Linked DNA regions of Homo sapiens: all the other regions are linked to region 1. Evidence: promoter capture Hi-C in 16 types of primary human blood cells and fetal thymus (Javierre and others, 2016). All regions are on one chromosome and are shown on one strand. Each heading gives the region's core, a stretch centred on a gene start or on the middle of the fragment in contact. The rest is flanking DNA. Distances are from core to core; before and after follow the strand shown.

Region 1 (2,804 bases), core at 213-2,712:
CCCTAGAAATGACAGGATGAAGGCGATGGTGACAAATATCCGAGCGAAACGCTTGACAATGAGAACAGACAAGTGCAGGTCTCCAGGAGTGCCGCGAGCGCCCGCGGGTTCTGAGAGCGCTCAAAGCCGCCGAGTCAGGCTGCCCAGCCCGCCGGGCCTCGCCGCAGTGATCCTCATTCCCGAATCTGGCAGCGCTGTCAAAGGCTTGTATTAGGAGGTGAACGGCGGCCGCAGGCCCACTCCACGCGGTTGCTGAAACCGAGCTGGGCGCGCGCGGGGGCCGAATCTCGCCGCCTCCGCGCTCCTGTCGGGGCAGCTCCCGATCCCGGGCTGCGCGGCTTCGGTCCCCAAGACGGCCACTTCCAGCCCTAGGCCCCTTGGCCGCAGCGCTTCCCAAACCAAGAGAGATCCTTTCTCAACTCAGAGCTTTTCATTAGCAGTCGTTAATAATGGCCCTGAGTTGCCTTATCATCTCCTGGAAATGAGAAATAAATTTCTTCGGAGAACGTTTCCCTTTGTAAAGGACAGAGAGTTTTAAAGATACAGGTATGATGTAAGACACATAAATACCTAGGTAAGCATTAGCAGAAATTCTCTTTTCCTTATATTTAAGTATAATAAACATACAAGTGTAGCTCAATGAATTTTCACAAACTGACATTCTGTGTAACCAGCAGCCTAAGAAACTGCTTTACCAACGATCCCCTAGCTCGCCTCCAGTTATGCACGCCAATAACCACTAGCCTAACTTCTACCACATGCCCATTACTTCTGTAGTTTAAAACTTCTGATTCTTGAATGTAAACGTTTAACAATAAATCGCTTGAATTTAACTCAAATTTCAAATGTAAGATGAAGTCAGAGATGCAGCCTGAATCTAGGATCATAATTTGTCTTGTGCGGAGGGCGAGTAATTTCCTTGGGCAAGAAAATAACTGGAGGTGACAGTTGTTTGGGGCTGCAGTCGTCCGGGCCAGGAGCACAGGGCGGGAAGGAATGGCCCATCTCTTAGGGCTCTCTGCTTGTCACCTACCAGGTTGGTCAGAAACGTTCTCATCAAAGCAATGGTTCTCTTTTCTTTTCTCTTTGGGACAGAAGGAGTTTCTTGACCGCCCTCTTCCCTGCAAATGCATAAACAACCACTGCTCCTGTCTCCAAGCTCAGATTCCTACCAAGATAGCCTTTTCTCTTCCCCTCTCTTTTGTAAGTCTCTTGATTTCATTCTTTGAACCTGTGATTGGAGGTTAAAGTGCACCAGGTTGGAAGGAGGAAGCTCTTAACAATAAAGGTTTGAATATTTAGCTGTGTCAGGTCGCTGCCCTCTCACGAGCCTCCCTCCCCTTTATCTTTTAAAATGCAAATTATGTTTCGAGGGGTTGTGCGTAGAGTGCGCGCTGCGCCTCGACGTCTCCAACCATTGGTGTCTGTGTCATTACTAATAGAGTCTTGTAAACACTCGTTAATCACGGAAGGCCGCCGGCCTGGGGCTCCGCACGCCAGCCTGTGGCGGGTCTTCCCCGCCTCTGCAGCCTAGTGGGAAGGAGGTGGGAGGAAAGAAGGAAGAAAGGGAGGGAGGGAGGAGGCAGGCCAGAGGGAGGGACCGCCTCGGAGGCAGAAGAGCCGCGAGGAGCCAGCGGAGCACCGCGGGCTGGGGCGCAGCCACCCGCCGCTCCTCGAGTCCCCTCGCCCCTTTCCCTTCGTGCCCCCCGGCAGCCTCCAGCGTCGGTCCCCAGGCAGCATGGTGAGGTCTGCTCCCGGACCCTCGCCACCATGTACGTGAGCTACCTCCTGGACAAGGACGTGAGCATGTACCCTAGCTCCGTGCGCCACTCTGGCGGCCTCAACCTGGCGCCGCAGAACTTCGTCAGCCCCCCGCAGTACCCGGACTACGGCGGTTACCACGTGGCGGCCGCAGCTGCAGCGGCAGCGAACTTGGACAGCGCGCAGTCCCCGGGGCCATCCTGGCCGGCAGCGTATGGCGCCCCACTCCGGGAGGACTGGAATGGCTACGCGCCCGGAGGCGCCGCGGCCGCCGCCAACGCCGTGGCTCACGGCCTCAACGGTGGCTCCCCGGCCGCAGCCATGGGCTACAGCAGCCCCGCAGACTACCATCCGCACCACCACCCGCATCACCACCCGCACCACCCGGCCGCCGCGCCTTCCTGCGCTTCTGGGCTGCTGCAAACGCTCAACCCCGGCCCTCCTGGGCCCGCCGCCACCGCTGCCGCCGAGCAGCTGTCTCCCGGCGGCCAGCGGCGGAACCTGTGCGAGTGGATGCGGAAGCCGGCGCAGCAGTCCCTCGGCAGCCAAGGTAAGCAGAGGCTGCGCCCCTTCGGAGGGTGCTTGGGAAGGCGCGGGTCGAGCCAGTGGCTGCTGCGCGTCGCGCGTCCAGTGCGCACAGGGGCGTCCCGGGCTGTCTGGGAGCTCGGCGCCAGGAGGGGCACGGCCCGGAGACAAATTCGGGGGCCTCTGGCCCGTCGGGGCTTCTCTGACCTACTGAGCCTGGGAGTGAATATTCTGAGTCTCAACACCGTGTTCAGGCGTCCTCTTTCCAAGAGCTCCTCATTCGCAACCCCGGGACACCTTCGGGAAGCTCCGGGGAATGTCGGCGTGAGCACTGCTGGACGCCGGCAGAATCGCGTCCTCCGGCACTTGCTGCGGCATGCATTCCTTGCGTGGCTCCTGGCCGCCGAGGAGAGAGGGAGGCTCGAACCTTCTTGGGCTAGGTCTAGGCCATTTATCTCCGCTCTCTCTTTCCCCATCTGAGCCATCTAAGAAGAGAAGTGACCTGGGGGGGTCGGAGG
Region 2 (2,804 bases), core at 164-2,663, 970 kb after region 1:
ATCTCCCTTCTGCCCTTTCAGCCTGACCAACCACCATCTCTCACTTGGACTATTGCAGCTGTCTTCTACCCAGACTCCCTCCTCCACCTTTGCTTCCTCTGACACAGTTTCCATAGAAAAACCAAAGTGATCTTTTGAAGAGGATGCAGTACTTTGGTGTATTCAACATCTTTTCCAACCTCCTCCCAGTGTGCCTTTCTCTCCTGCAGAAGCTGGAAAGGTGAGGACTGTATTTCCTAGACTCCATGAAATGTAGATTCCAACTTAGGCTCTGCTTAAGTCAAATGTAGGTGACCTGAGCTAGTGCAGAGTGAGGCAGGGAGAGTGGTGGCAGGGGGCAGGTGTTCACTTCTGCAGCTGGGTCCAGCAGGTGTGGGTCTAGGGGTCGTGGCTCCAGCAGGTGTTGGTCTAACGAGTTTGGCTCCAGTAGACGTGGGTCTAGGAGGTGTGGCTTCAGCAGGTGTGGGTCTGGCAGACGTAGCTCCAGCAGGTATGTGTTTAGCAGGTGCAGTGTAGCTCTGCAGTTGTAGTTGCAGCTGTGGCCTGTGGACACTGGACTGCTGCCTGTACGTTGTGTTCTGAGGCCAGCAGGTGCAGCTCATCTTCTGATTCCCCAGCTTCCTCACTGAAGTAGAGGTAACGGCTCCCCTGGTGAGTGAGCTCTGCAGTGACACTCTGCGAATTCCTCCTCAAGACCCAGGCCATGACCTGCTCCTCCAGCCCATCTAATGACTTGTGAGCAGATAATTCTCTGTATTAGGTGCTTTTCTTCTCAAAAAAGCAAGAGTGACTTCTTTCATGTTTTGTTGAACTCTGAATACAAAAGGCCACGCTGATCAAGTCACTTTCCAGCTCATTGACCATAGAATGATACCCAACATCCTTCATGTGCCTACTGTCCCTCGATGACTTAGACCCTTGCCTCCTTTGGGCACACATCACTCCCTTTTCTCTTCTAGTGACTCCCCCTCATCATCCAGATCACAGCCTAATGTCACTTCCCCAGAGAAGCCTCATTCTACGATTGCCAAAACCAAGCCCCACAGACCGGGTGGCACCAACAACAGGTACGAGTTTTCTCCCAGTTCCAGAGGCTGAAAGTCCAAGGTCAAGGTGTCAGCAGTGGTGGTTCCTTCTGAGGCTCTGAGGGAAGGATCTATTCCCAGCTACTCTCCTGGGCTTTTAGAAGGCCAACTTCACGTCCACACGGCTTTCTTTCTGTGTGTGTCCAAATTTCCCCCTTTTATAAGGACACCAGTCTTATTGGATTAGGGCCTGCCCTGATGACCTCATTTAACTGAGTCAATCTGCCATGACCCTACTTACAAGTCCAATTCCACTGTCAGGTGCTGGGGGTTAGGACTTCACCCTATGAGTTTGGGAGGATGCACACAGTTTATCCTCTAACAGCCAGGTTCTCAAGGTCTAACTTCTCCTCAAACTCTGCTTCTTCGTCAAAGCAGTCAATTCGGTGTGCGACGGTGCAGCTGCTGGTTGGTTAACATTTGTCCTCAGCTAGGGAGACTGTGTTGGATGATCCCCCAGTGCTTAGCACAGGGCCTCGGGCAGAGCAAGTGCTGAAGAGGTATTCGTTGGATTTGTGGATGAATGAGTTGAGGAATAAATGATTATTTCTAATAGCTGATGAAAGACCTAAAAGGCCAATGATAAGCAAGTGGCCAAATCACCCAAGACACAGTTGTTTATTACACAGCTGTTAAAATGTCTCTGAAGACTTTGTGACAATGTGGGAAAATGCTTATGATCTGACATTGAATGACATGGTAGAATACAACCGTTTATGGAATATTACATGAAAAAAGAACAGAAAAATGAGAGTCCAGTGTTGAACTCACAAAAACAAAAAATCATGTATAAATTGTGATCAGATTTTCCACATTAAATGTATTAGTTCTTCTCATTCATTAAATAAATAACTTCAGGTCAAAGCTAAAGAAAAATTAGCATCCTTAAACATTGGGATCCTATGAACTATCCTTTATTCATTTTGGAGTAAAAGATGGGATGGCAGGAAACACACAGGGCCTCATTTCTGCTTCTTTGGGCAAATCTTATTTTTAGTAACTCGCTTTGCCATTAATAAAACCACGTCTGATCATATGTAAAAATGATGTGTTTGAACTTCTTATTTTGCATACTTGCTCTTTAAAATTTTTTAAAAACATTTTTTCTTCAGAACTAATGCATGCTCATTAAAAAATTAAATATCAAAGTAAAACAAAAACTTAAAGCATCCTAAAATTGTGCCTCAAAGCCATAACCATTAATTACATTTTGGTAATATTCCTCCAGAATTTATTCTAAATATACAGATCTGTATATTTATTCTAAATATACAGATATACTAGAGTATAATACACACACACACAAGCATTATGCAGAAATGAATCCACACTCCATGAGGTCACAAACTGCTTTTTCATTTTAAGATATTTGTTGCCCATATCTGATGGTGTGGTCCGTATGCCCCCACAATCCTACTCTTTTTACCCAAGCAGCAACTCAGATGCGGAATCATCAACCTAGGGTCTGAGAGAAGCAGCTGAGATACAGGAAGGGGCCTGGCCATCTTCCCAAGGGCAGAATGAGCATGCCCTGGGTCCCCGACTGGGTCACACTCTGCTGCTCTGTGAGCTGGCTGCCTCTCTTTGTCAGGAAGACCAAGTTCACCGCCACGTGTGCTGGGGTGATTGGATGGGCCATGTGTGGCATCCTGGTTGGGTGGAAGCTGCCATGTAAGTAGTAAAAGAACAGAGCCAGAGCTGTCCTGCGCTTACTAGAGT
Region 3 (2,804 bases), core at 127-2,626, 670 kb after region 1:
GGCTTGGGAGACAACAGAGCGTAGTTAGCCTCAGGTGGGGACCAAAATGTCGTGTTCACTACTGTACCTCCCCGTTGGCATAGCGTCAGACAGATGCTACAAATATTTGTTGAGTGGAAGGAAGAGAAAGAGGAAAGAAAGGAGAGAGAGATAGGGAGGATGGGAGGGAGGAAAGGAGAGAGAGAACAAGGAACAATCTTGATCAAATCCTAGCTGTTTACTAAATGTATGACCTTGAGCAAATAACTCAGCCTCCTTGTCCCTGGACCTCAATATCCTTATCCATAAAATGAGGCGCTCTCCCCAGGTCGTTGTGAGGATTGAATGAGACCATATATGTAAAATGCTTAGCAAAGGGCCTGATTCATAACAAGTGGCCCATAAGTGCTACTGTGATGACTATACTCTCCAGGGTCATACAGCCGGTGAGGAGCTGAGGCTACAAATATCCAAGGTCTTTCTCTCTGCTGTTGGAAGCTCCCCTGGCATACCCTGGGTTCTCACTGCCCTAAGAGCCCTTTCCCCTCTGGTGAGCACAAGTTCTGTACTGAAAACTGCCAGCCCCATTGTTTCCGTGAGCTTGAAAACCTCTTCGGAGCAGCAGGCTCTGATACATGCAAAGAAGGAGCAGACAGAACCATTAAGACACACTCAGCCTGAATCACTGTCCTCCTCAGCAGGGCTTTGCGGCAGCCTGAGGAGATACTGTTCTCAGCCACTGGACCAGATTGCTCAGGGAGCAGGAGGATGCAGGAAGCACAGGCCACCCGCTCCTGCTGTTACTGACCTAGTTTGGACCGCTTTGCTGGGAATGTGAAGCCAAACCAGATGGAGGGACACCAGGAACCGCTGATGCTAGCTGGAGGGATAGGAGCTCGGGCTCCAGGGAGCTCAGACTTCGGGGCATTCCAGGGCTTGATTTGGGGCACAGAGTGCTCACTTGGTGGGGGGGGATGGCAGTCGTCTTAGTCAGCCCGGCTGCTATAACAAAACACAACAGACCAGGCGGCTTACATAACAGTAGTTTCTTGCCATTCTGGTTACTGGGACATCCAAGCTCAAGGCTCTGGCAGATTCGATGTCTGGGGAGGGTCTTCCTCCTGTTTCCTGGATTATACCTCCTCACCGTGTCCTCACGGGGCAAAGAGAGGAAGCCAGCTCTCTGGTGTCCCTTCCTATAAGGACACCAATCCCGCTATGAGGGCCCCACCCTCAGGACCCCATCTAATTCTAATCACCTCTAAAGGCCCCACCTCCCAATACCATCACATTAGTGGGGAAGGTTTTGAATTATGAATTTTGGAAGGACACAATGGTTCTGTCCCTGTGGCAGGTAACAACCTTCCTGGCCTCCATGTGGTCTTGACCATCCTGACCACAGACAGAGGCCTCTCAGTGAGGGGCAGTTATGGCATAGTAGCAAAGAGAGCAGAGCCTGCAGCCAGACTGCCTGGGTGTGAAGGTTGAGTCTGCCTCTTGACAGCTGTGTAATCTTGGGCCAGCGATATAACTTCTCCACACCTCAGTCTCTGCATCTGTAAAGTGCAGGTGACAATAACAGGACTTAACGTCATAAGGGTGTTAGATGTGAATCCATGTACAGCATTTACATAGAAAGGTGCCTGGATCATCATCAGCACTGCATAAGTGGTTGCTGTCAAAATCTTACTATGTCACCAGATAAGCCAGTTTAATGCTGGTGACGGGACAACCAAGGGCACAGAGTTCTTAATGTTTGCCCAAGGCTTGGGAGAGCGTAGGAGTGGTGACTGAAAGAAGGCTCTCATCTCTGTGCTCCCTCATCCTTACTATGAGACCCTGCACGTGGCACCTCATCTTTCTGAGCCCCAGTTTCCTCCTGAAAATGAAAATAATAGCTTCACTCTGCCTAAATCGCAGGGTTCTTTGATGACTAAATGAGTTAGCATTCATGAAAAATGTTTGAACACTCCAGAATGCCAAGTGTGATGACCAGCCTGAGACTCCTTTTGCCTCTAGGGATGGCCGTGCCATCAGCGGGTGGATGAGCCCAGACCCCAACACTGGCAATTCATTCCTCACCTCTTCCCATGCCCTTGGAAGTGGCAAAGCGTGTGCACGTGAGCACCTATGTTGGAGTGATGAGACAAGCCAGCGGAGACAGTGGATCAGAGAACACTGAATCAGCTGGGAACGTGGGAGTTGAGTGGGTGGGCCTGGAGAGTCATGCATTTGTCATTTTCTATTGAACAAAGGTACAAGCAAATATAAAAATACCTAAGGAAGACACATGACTATTATTAAAAGTTTAATGGCAAAATTCTTCCAGCTCCTCTTTGTTTCAAAGTGGAAAGAGTCACTTCGAGATGGACATTTGCATCCCTTCCATAAGGAAAGAGAACAGCCCCAGGTCCTCCTTGGAGTGCAGATTATGATCTGGAGGCATGGGTTTGTGCACGATGCCTTCCAGCATTAGAGAGGGGATGAGCCATGTATGTATTTCTCCACAACAAACCTCATCAAAGGAGTATCAACTGGCTGGGGCTGCCATTACAAAGTACCATAGCCTGGGAGGCTTAAACAACAGACATTTATTTTCTCACAGCTCTGGGGGCTGGAAGTCCAAGATGAACATGCCGGCAGAGTTTCTTCTCCCAAGGCCTCTCTCTTTGGCTTGTAGATATCCCCCTTTTCCCTGTGTCTTCACACCATCTTCCCTCTGCATATCTCTGTGTCTAAACCTCCTCTTCTTATAAGGACACTAGTGGTATTGGATAAGGGTCTGCCTTAATGACCTCATTTTAATTCATGTACCTCTTTAAAGA

What was found. Contacts are between HindIII fragments. The CHiCAGO score rates a contact against its expected background, and 5 or more counts as called.
Region 2: a contact is called between a fragment that was not itself captured here and the fragment with the promoter of CDX2 in region 1, in 5 of 17 cell types (non-activated CD4 T cells, naive CD4 T cells, total CD4 T cells and 2 more). The highest score is 8.4, in non-activated CD4 T cells.
Region 3: a contact is called between a fragment that was not itself captured here and the fragment with the promoter of CDX2 in region 1, in 1 of 17 cell types (M2 macrophages). The highest score is 5.0, in M2 macrophages.

What each region holds. Positions count from the first base shown.
Region 1 is chr13:27,967,973-27,970,776 of GRCh38, reverse strand. It overlaps CDX2 (caudal type homeobox 2), which reads left to right and starts at 1,462. Exons shown (of 3, transcript NM_001265.6): 1 at 1,462-2,311. The coding sequence starts at 1,771. RefSeq lists an enhancer at 1,536-2,227. The HindIII fragment of the contact is 4,126 bases long and covers 1-2,804 here.
Region 2 is chr13:26,999,549-27,002,352 of GRCh38, reverse strand. No RefSeq gene overlaps it. Among named protein-coding and RNA genes, the nearest start is that of USP12-AS1, 120 kb to the left of the region's middle. The HindIII fragment of the contact is 2,857 bases long and covers 1-2,804 here.
Region 3 is chr13:27,294,645-27,297,448 of GRCh38, reverse strand. No RefSeq gene overlaps it. Among named protein-coding and RNA genes, the nearest start is that of RASL11A, 25 kb to the right of the region's middle. The HindIII fragment of the contact is 3,197 bases long and covers 1-2,804 here.